Linked DNA regions of Homo sapiens: all the other regions are linked to region 3. Evidence: promoter capture Hi-C in human tissues and cell types (Jung and others, 2019). All regions are on one chromosome and are shown on one strand. Each heading gives the region's core, a stretch centred on a gene start or on the middle of the fragment in contact. The rest is flanking DNA. Distances are from core to core; before and after follow the strand shown. Region 1 has its middle 79 kb from the start of IFNGR1. Region 2 overlaps PEX7 (peroxisomal biogenesis factor 7). Region 3 holds the start of IL20RA (interleukin 20 receptor subunit alpha).

Evidence for each region. Contacts are between HindIII fragments. The study calls those that stand out against the background at their distance.
Region 1: a contact is called between a fragment that was not itself captured here and the fragment with the promoter of IL20RA in region 3, in 2 of the 25 tissues and cell types used here (aorta and hippocampus).
Region 2: a fragment that was not itself captured here is called in contact with the fragment with the promoter of IL20RA in region 3 in 1 of the 25 tissues and cell types used here (thymus).

Annotation. Positions count from the first base shown.
Region 1 is chr6:137,296,472-137,299,724 of GRCh38, reverse strand. No RefSeq gene overlaps it. Among named protein-coding and RNA genes, the nearest start is that of IFNGR1, 79 kb to the right of the region's middle. RefSeq lists an enhancer at 1,383-2,009. The HindIII fragment of the contact is 3,451 bases long and covers 1-3,191 here.
Region 2 is chr6:136,881,419-136,884,379 of GRCh38, reverse strand. The region is part of intron 8 of PEX7 (peroxisomal biogenesis factor 7); the gene reads right to left. Among named protein-coding and RNA genes, the nearest start is that of SLC35D3, 39 kb to the left of the region's middle. The HindIII fragment of the contact is 3,064 bases long and covers 1-2,875 here.
Region 3 is chr6:137,043,346-137,046,489 of GRCh38, reverse strand. IL20RA (interleukin 20 receptor subunit alpha) reads left to right here and starts at 1,525. Exons shown (of 7, transcript NM_014432.4): 1 at 1,525-1,849. The coding sequence starts at 1,762. RefSeq lists silencers at 1,713-1,772, 1,803-1,912, 1,983-2,032. The HindIII fragment of the contact is 8,751 bases long and covers 1-3,144 here.

The sequences.
Region 1 (3,253 bases), core at 217-2,716, 250 kb before region 3:
CCTTTTAGCTTTGGACAGACATCTTTCATGAATCCCTGAAGAAAATGAGTCATGTTATTTACATGATAATAACATCTCTTTTAAAAATGAATATTTTAGAATGAGAGAGATAATCAAGAAAAGATTTATCATATTTACTCATTACTAAAGGGGATTTACTTGTTACTAAAGCACTCCCCAGTGTACATGGACATGGTTAATAAACTTGTCATTTCTCCTGTTAGTTTACCTATTGTCCATTAACTCACAGGGCCCCAACAATCCAAGCCTAAAATGGTAGAGGAAAAGTTTCCTCCCAACACTTTCTACACAGGTCACTTCCATTCACACTTCATGGGCCTAAGAAAACTAAGTGGCCAAGCCTAAATTCAAGGGGGTGGGAAAGTGTGTCACTCCATACACCCAGAATTAGAAAATAGCCAGAGATTGATGAACACTTGTAATGTCTACCTCAGTGGGGCTTGGAAAAGAAATGAGCTTCACTCACAACTAAGTTAAAAACAAACTAGGTATAGAATGAGCATAAAAAATCACTCTTCTGGGGGTCATCTGTGTTGTAAAAGATGTATCCTACAGCATGACGGGAGACAGATTTATCTCTTTTCCATAGGTGTATTTCCTAAGCTTTTAGACAGAGGCAGGTACATATATGAAAACAATTGATAGGAAAAGTCTTTAATTCCTAGTCATTCTGAATACCAGTAAAAAGAATAGTATAGGGCAAAAGAAATATCTTTTCTTCCTATCTTAGGTTCATGGCTGAAGCCCCTATAACAAAAGACAGATTAACAAGAGAAATGCATATGAATTTATTTAATAGAAGCTTTACGTGACACAGGAGCCTTTGGATATGAAGATCAAAGAAACAGGTAAACTTGTGCATTTTTATGCTTAGGCTTAATGAAAAGCGAACAGTCATGGGGAAGTATGATTAGAGGACAAGATGGGTGTGATCTAAAGGTAATCATAGCAAGGCCTATTGCTGAGATTTTTCTCAGAGTCCCTGTGTCTTCACAGATAAAGATACTCCTTTCCTCTGGGTACAGAAAAGATACATCTCAAATGAGGGTCTTATGACCTGCTTCAGGGGATGGTAAGAAAATTCTTTCTACTTTCCTAGTCTGCTTCAGAAAAGAAGGTGGGAGAAGTTTCAGGAGGCCTTCCTGCTTCTACAATGTTCTCAGTTTCCCTCAGCTTAAAACACTCAGTATTCCAAGTGCCCCTATATTTAGGGGTAGCATGTCCTGAACGCTCTCATTAGTTTTGATTTGTTGGCTTTCCATAGGGGTTTAAGGAAAACCAGGAAAGAGAAATAAAAGTTGGATGGTAACAGTGAGGGAGGTAGAAAAATTAGAAATTCTTATTCATTCCCTGTAAAAAACTCAGGCTTCAAACCTAGTGGAAGATCTGTTCTTTTACTTGGCTGTTTAAACAGTAGGTTTGTAGGAAAGGATGTAGAACAAGTTGTTATTTGCATCTGGAGAAAGAATTGGTTAAACACTGAATGTTCATGTTTGATATTGTCTGAAAAGTTACTCATGATGTTCCTGTTTGGAAGCTGGGGTAGTCAGGGATGACACACTACGGCTTCCCTATCAGGTTTCCTGTGGTTCAAGAATAAAGGGAACTGCAGGCTTCCCACCAAGCACATACATTTGCAAACTGCCGCGAGTCAGTTCCCAAGGCCAGGGTCTGGCCCTTGACAAAGGCAGCTGAGCGGCAGACTTAGTCTATTTCACTCTCCCTGCCGGGCAGACCCTGCATCTCAGGAAAAGCTACAGGATTCCTTCCTTAGAGAGCTACAGAGCTCATAGTTAGGGGGAATTGTCAGGAATAACTCAATATTTCCTTTCCGTGATAAAAGAAACACTTTCATTAAGGAAATACCTTCAGCAGAGCTTCTCACCCCTGTCTCGCAGAAAGCAAGGAAAATGGAAAAAGAGCTATTTATCACAAATTGGACTTTAAAAACATACTCATTTCTTGATGAGTTTGGTTGGTTCCATAGGGATTACAAGCTTGTGGGCAAGGCTTTTGAATACGTTCAATTCTCAAATCAAGGACTCAATGAAATTCTCAAATTTCATCAAGGACTTAGTATCTAATTAATTCCATCACTGCACTTCTGAAGCTTCCAGCTAGACCTATTAAAATCTGCCTAGATCAATGAATTTATCCCCATGTGTAATTGTAAAATACGTAACCTGAATATATGTTACACAGTGAAACTTCCCTTCACAAGTGTGCTTTTCTGGGCTTCAGCTTTAGATAATATCAGAAGTTACTTGTTTATTCCTCTTCAAAACTCTCAGTGAAACTGGCGAGGCCTAATATGTATAAAATGCTTGCTATGCTGAAAGCCCTGGGCTGCACACATAACAAGGTTGAAATCATTTAATCCTCACCTTCTCCTCTCAACCTCATGAACAGGTACTATTCTTATAGTCATTTTTCAAATGACAAAGCCCTAGGTCACACAGCTAAATCTGGCAGAGAGCTCAAACTGGGAAGCCTGACTTCAGAGCCCATAGCCCTAATCAGCACATTCTATACTTCTAGTTAAGGCAAGATGTTCATTTTCCATAGGATTGACCATCATGCCACAGAGGCCTTTGCGTACTCCTTGAATATTAGAGATACTTGGCTCATAGTGTCCATGAAAAGAGTCAAACTCTGTAAAATTTATTACAGAAGAATATTATTCTGTATTCTGTATTCTGAAGAAATTTATTCTGAGCCAAACATGACTGACTGTGGCCCGTGACACAGCCCTCAGGGGGTCCTGAGAATGTTTGCCCAAGGCGGTTGGGTCCAGCTTGGTTTTACACATTTTAGGAAGACATGAGACTTCAGTCAAATACATTTAAGATGTACATTGGTTCAGTCCAGACAGGTAGGGCTACTCAAAAGGGAGGGATGCTTTCAGGTGGTACGTAGATTTAAAATTTTTCTGGTTGACAATTGGTTGTGTTTATCTAATACCTGGGATCAATAGAAAGGAAATGCCTGGGTTGGGATAAGAGGTTGTGGAGATCAGTTTTATCATAAAGATGAAGCCTCCAGGTAGCAGGCTTCAGAGAGAATAGATTGCAAATGTTTCAATCCGACTTAAGGTCTATGTTATGTTAACACCAGAGAGGTATAATGAAGCATGTCTGACCCCCCACTTCCCATCGTGGCCTGAACCAGTCTCTCAGGTTACATTTTAAGAGCACCCTGGCTGAGGAGGAAGTCCATTCAGATGGCTGGGGAG
Region 2 (2,961 bases), core at 94-2,593, 160 kb after region 3:
TATCTGAAATCTTTTTCTTCTTGTTAAAATGGTTTTCTGACACTAAAAATATCATCAATCCAATCAGATTTAAAATTCTTCAGAGGATAAATTTAACTCATATCACATGGAGTAAAAATCCACCAAAAATGCACCTTTTCTGACCTTTCCAATCAGTGGTCACCACATTCAAATAATGAGACTAGACTCACACAGGCATTAGAACGATTAAAGTCTTATTCTCGACATGTGTTGAGAATTACAAATATATATACATGTAATATAGTCAAAAGTGAAGGGTTTTCAAATGATTTTGGCTTCCTTTTCTATTTATTTTCCTTGTTACAAGAAAGTCTTCGATAATCCTATATTGGAATATGCAATCACTAGCCTCCAGTTACATTTAGCATGGAGGTGAAACAGTAATTTAGTAGCTACAACGAATGTTAAAATTAAAATTATATTTCTAAAAAAAATGATGTTGCTTCTATATACTGCCTGTGAAGCAATGCTCCACTTCGTACTGGGAAAATGTTTACCAATTTTTCAAGAAAAAGGAGAATTCCAGGTTTTTGGCTTGTTTGAATAGGGATAAGTTTCCCATTAACTGAGATAAATAACACAGATAAACAAGCAAAGAAGGAGTTCAGTGTGAGATTCCTGTTTGGACACTCAGGTGCCTGTGTCCAGAAACAGCTGAATATGCAGGCCTAAGGCTCTCAAGAAAGGCCAGACCTGACACAGGGGCTGGAAATTATCATTTAGAACGGGCATGTAAAAAAAGTTCTAAACCAAAGGGAGACGACCAAGTTTAAGGGGAAGAGAAGGAGACTGATTCTATGATGAACCCTAAGAAGGAAGGGTCAGAGGAGAGTAAGAAAAACAAATAAACAAAAAAGAACATGGAATCCTTAGGATAAGGAGTTTCCAGAAGGGAAGGTATGATCGACGGTGTAAAACAGAAAAAGGTTCAGCATGACAAATGCTGACAAGTGGACTGGATTTGGTTTTACAGAGGTCGCTAGTGGCTTTTGCCAGAGCAATTTCAGTAAAGAAGGAGGGACTGAAGCTAGTTGTGCCATTAGGAAGAACCTTAAGTGCCTATGCCTATAAGCTTTCAAAGGTCTACAAAAATGCCTGAGACCTGAACATTTAAATTAAACTTAAAATAATTAAATTTAAAATTAATAAATTAACATTACTAATTGATAAACCTGGCACTCAGAAACATTTCATTCCACTCGGAAACAATTTCTAGGTTAGGGATGTTTCTTTTTTACTTCACATGAATTCCTTAGCAAGCATAATGATTGCCAAGAAGTCATAATCAATCATAAGTGACTTACTCAATCCAAATCACTTCAAAAGCAAAAGCCACAAATCTTTTCAAAATAATTAACCCTATTTAATCAGTGATGTAGATCCATTTTATAGGTTCTAGTGATCCAGGGTAAGACCTCCAACACAGAGTACGCTGGGACAGTGAAGACCTTAAAATGGCCCTGGTGAATGGAAGCTTATGCGGACACTAAAAGCTTGGCTAAGTAAAAAAGAGAGATGTAAGAGAGGAGTTAAAGGCAAATGCAGGATGAAGGAAAATGTTACAGGCTGAGGAAAAAGTCACTAAAGAGTTGGAGACTAAAGATATAGAGAGATATAGGGGGAGAACAGGTCACTTCACGGCGTAAAGTCCTGAAGAAAACAAGTACGAGGGATCAACAGCACACATGTCTAAGGGATCTAAATAACAGGAGGAATGAAGAGGTACAGATTTAGAGAAAATCTGCAGGCCCAGCTTAGAAATTAAGATAATTTGTGCTTGAGTCCCACAATTATTATTATTATTATTATTTTAAAGGTAAGATCTTTTGCTGAATGTGCAGGGAATAGGGTTGGAAAGATGGCTTTAGAAGAGAGGCAAAGGGCCAGGTGCGGGGGCTCACGCCTATAATCCCAGCACTTTGGGAGGCTGTGGTGGGCAGATCACTTGAGGTCAGGAGTTCGAGACCAGCCTGGCCAACATGGTAAAACCCTGTCTCTACTAAACATACAAAGATTAGCTGGGTGTGGTGATGTGTGCCTGTAGTCCCAGATAGTCAGGAGGCTAAGGTGGGAGAATCGCTTGAACCCTGGAGGTGGAGGTTACAATGAGCCAAGATCACACAACTGCACTGCAGCCTGGGTGACAGAGCAAGACTGTCTCAAAAAAAAAAAAAAAAAAAAAAGAAGAAGAAGAGGGGGAAAAGCAATTAAGAATTATCATAGTATTTTCAAGAACGTCTTCTCATATATTTCTTGTAATCACCCTGTGAGCTTGTGAGCACAGATATCACTAGTTGCCATATTACACATTAATAAAAGAAACCTGGACTCTAAGTTATACACGATCATTGATTTCAAATATCTTCTTAACTTTCTGTTTAACTTACGTTAAAGATCTCCTATTATTGAACTATAAATCTCAATTTTTCCAAGTGCTTACAAATATAGCTACAACACCTTTGATCTGGTCTCAGGACCATGACCTAAGCCACCTCCCTCCCCAGGGGCACTAAATATCTATCCCCCGCTCCCTGTCCTTGCTCAGGACTCAGCATTTAACAGTGGAGAGAAAAGTAAGACTGAAAGCCAAAAACTATGATGATTCTGAGCATGGTTTGATACTCCCAAGATTTTCAGAAATGTAGTTGACATCCAGTCTTAACAAACATTCCTGAGAACAAGGCATTTTCCCACAGGGTGTTTAGGGGTACTTAAATACATAAAACAGGGAGTGGTCAGTCACTAGGATTAAGATCAAAATGACAATTCTGAGAAGAAAGTCTCAGTAGTCATTAGATTTTTCTCTTTAATCAGAAACAAAGCACTGAAATGGATTTAAGATGTCCCAATTAAAACTGTTAAGAATACCAAATATGAGATCACCAAAAGATTAATGTCTCATCTCAGTTTATGCCTTCTTGCTTCAAATGCCAGAAAGGT
Region 3 (3,144 bases), core at 276-2,775:
CCCTTGCCTCATCTGAAAAAAGGGCCAGGACCTAACTGCAGGTTGTGAGAGTTGAATGAAATCAAATAACAACTTTTCAGTCAGTGACAGACTGCATATACAAAGGTGGTCTCATACGATTATAATAGAGCTGAAAAAATTCCTATTGTCTCTAAAGACCTTCCAGGAGGACAGGATGTGAGGTGGCATCAGTGGCACTGACAATCCTGACCCTGTGCAGGCCTAGGCTAATGTGTGTGGTTGTGCCTTAGTTTATAACAAAAAAGTTTAAAAAGTAAAGAAAAAATAAAGAAAAAGAAAAATTTAAAAATAGAAAAAGCTTATAGAAAGAATACAAAGAAAAAATATTTTCATACTGCTGCACAATGTGTTTGTGTTTTAAGTCAAACGTTATTACAAGTCAAAAAGTTTAGGTCGGGTGTCGTGGTTCACGCCTGTAATCCCAGCACTTTGGGAGGCCAAGGAGGGTAGATCACCGGAGGTCAGGAGCTCGAGACCGGCCTGGCCAACATGGCGAAACCCAGTCTGTACTAAAAATACAAACAAATTAGCCGGGCGTGGGGGCACACACATGTAATCCCAGCTACTCTGGAGGGTGAGACAGGACAATCATCAAAACCGGAAGGCAGAGGTTGCAGTGAGCCGAGATCGCACCACTGCACTCCAGCCTGGGCTACAGAGCAATGCTCCATCTCAAAAATAAATAAATAAATAAAGTTTAAAAGATTTAAAAGTAGAAAGTAAAAAATCATAGTAAGCTAAGGTTAATTTATTATTATTGAAGAAATAATTTTTTAATAAATTTAGCATAGCCTAAGTGTAATACAGTGTTTATACAGCCTATAGTAGTACACAGTGATGTCCTAGGCCTTCACATTGACTCACCACTCACAGACTCAGCCAGAGCGACTTCCAGTCCTGCAAGCTCCATTCATGGAAAGTGCCCTATACAGGTGTACCATTTTTAAAATCTTTCATACTGTACTTTTGCTGTACCTTTTCTACGTTCAGACATGTTTAGATACACAAATATTTACCATTGTGTTACAATTGCTTGCAGTATTCAGTATGGTCACTTGCCGTACAGGTTTGTAGCCTAGGAGCAAACAACAGCCTGTACCATATAGCGTAGGCGTGTAAGAGGCTATACCATATAGGTGTGAGTACACTCTAAGATGTTCACACAAGAAACTCGCCTAAGACATTTCTCAGGAGGTAATCCTGTCATCTTAAATGATGCATGACTGTAAGATCTACGGCTGAGTGCCTAACTGTATATCGAGAAATAACGCTCTATTTCATCCGTCTTCCGATATTGAACTTTAACTGACCATCAGACCGGCCTGAATACCAGAATCTCTTTGCAATGCACTCGCCTCGCTCATTACCAGAAGGAGGTTTTACCTGCCTAGTGACCTGGTTGGTCTGGGCATGAACCCCGAGAGGTGGAAACTCTCAGACTCTCAGGACTGACAGCCGAGTGGCTGGGGACTATAAATCCGCGAGAACTGCCCTCGCGCTGCCATCCAGCTGGGTAGCCGGGGGAGCGCGCGTGGGGGCTCCGCGAGTCGCTCGCCCTTGGTTTCTGGGGAAGCCTGGGGGACGCGGCTGTGGCGGAGGCGCCCTGGGACTCAGGTCGCCTGGAGCGTGGCACGCAGAGCCCCAGGCGCGGAGCTGAGGCCGCGCGGCCGCGCTTGGCCCCAGCGGGCGTGGGACTGAGCAGTCTGCTGCCCCCCGACATGTGACCCAGCCCCGCCGCCCATGCGGGCTCCCGGCCGCCCGGCCCTGCGGCCGCTGCCGCTGCCGCCGCTGCTGCTGTTGCTCCTGGCGGCGCCTTGGGGACGGGCAGGTAGGTGGGTCGCGCCGCCAGGTGCGGGTCGGGGATGCCTCCAGGCCGGGGCCCCGCCAGGCAGAGCTCGAGGCCGAGCTCTCCCCTCCTGCCCGCCGGCCAGGTTTCGCTTTCGGGCGGGCAGAGGACGAGGTGCGCGGAGGCCGGAGCTTCCAGCCCCGGGGCTGCAGGGAGCCCGGGGGACACTCGCCGTCGCCTCGCGCACCTTGGCTCGGGGTCAAGTTTGCAGGACTCCGCGCTCCGCACTTTCGGTCTCGAGAATTGAGGTGGGGTGGGGGGAGTTCGGTGGGGGGTGCGCTCTGCGCGGTGCCCACAGCCTATGACTTGCGGTCGGGGACGGTTACCATGCGGGGCCCCTCGCCGGCCAGTCCCAGGTTCCCGCCACCACCGCCGCGGCCGCGCGGAGGGGCCCCTGTGGATGCCGCGTCTCGGCCGCCGGGCCCCGCAGTCCTGCAAGCCGCGCGTCGCGAGATCCGCGCTTTAAAAGCCAAACTCCCCGAAAGGGTCAGCCCCGAAGGAACATGATCCAGAAAGACGCAGCTTCTTAAAGTAAGCTCCCCCTGTCCTGGGTACGCCGTTGTTTCCTTTGCAGTTATGACCATGTACAGATAGTGCTCTTTGATTTTTCAGAAATAACAAAACTTTTAACTCGTTTACGACATAAGGTAACTGAAGAGCTCTTTCGTTTTGTTTGGTTTTTAAGTTTAAATTCTCTACCAATTGGAATCCAGTAAACCAGAATGATTCATTAACCTGATTGCTTTTTTTCCCTGTATTTCTCGTACATGAGAAAAAGATTTTTTAAAAAAACAAAAAAGATATCCGGGATCCCTTTTTAAAAAAATTATTTTAAAAAACAACAACAAAGCTTCTCCAAATACTGTGCTTTGTAGACACTTCGTTCAGGCCCCGCTGTCTTTTAACCCAGAACTGAACAGTAAGAGTGAATGCAGGAAGAAAGTTGACGGTGAATCTGGAGTCCTTGGTAGTTAAAGAAAAAGTTAAATTCAATATAGTTACAACAATAAGAAAAGTATGCACACAGATCTTGGAGAGATTTTGAACGATAGCTATTATACATAAAATATTTTATCTTTTAAATTTATCAGAAATTATAGTTATTTTTCCTTTTAATATTCCCGGGTAGACTGAATGGGAAGAAACGACTGACGTGCAAATATTGAGCCTTCAACTAACAGACAGAAATTTGTTTTTATTTTTAATCGAAGAGAGAAGCTGGGCGCTGTGGCTCACACCTGTAATCCTAACACTTTGAGAGACAGAGACATAGGCAG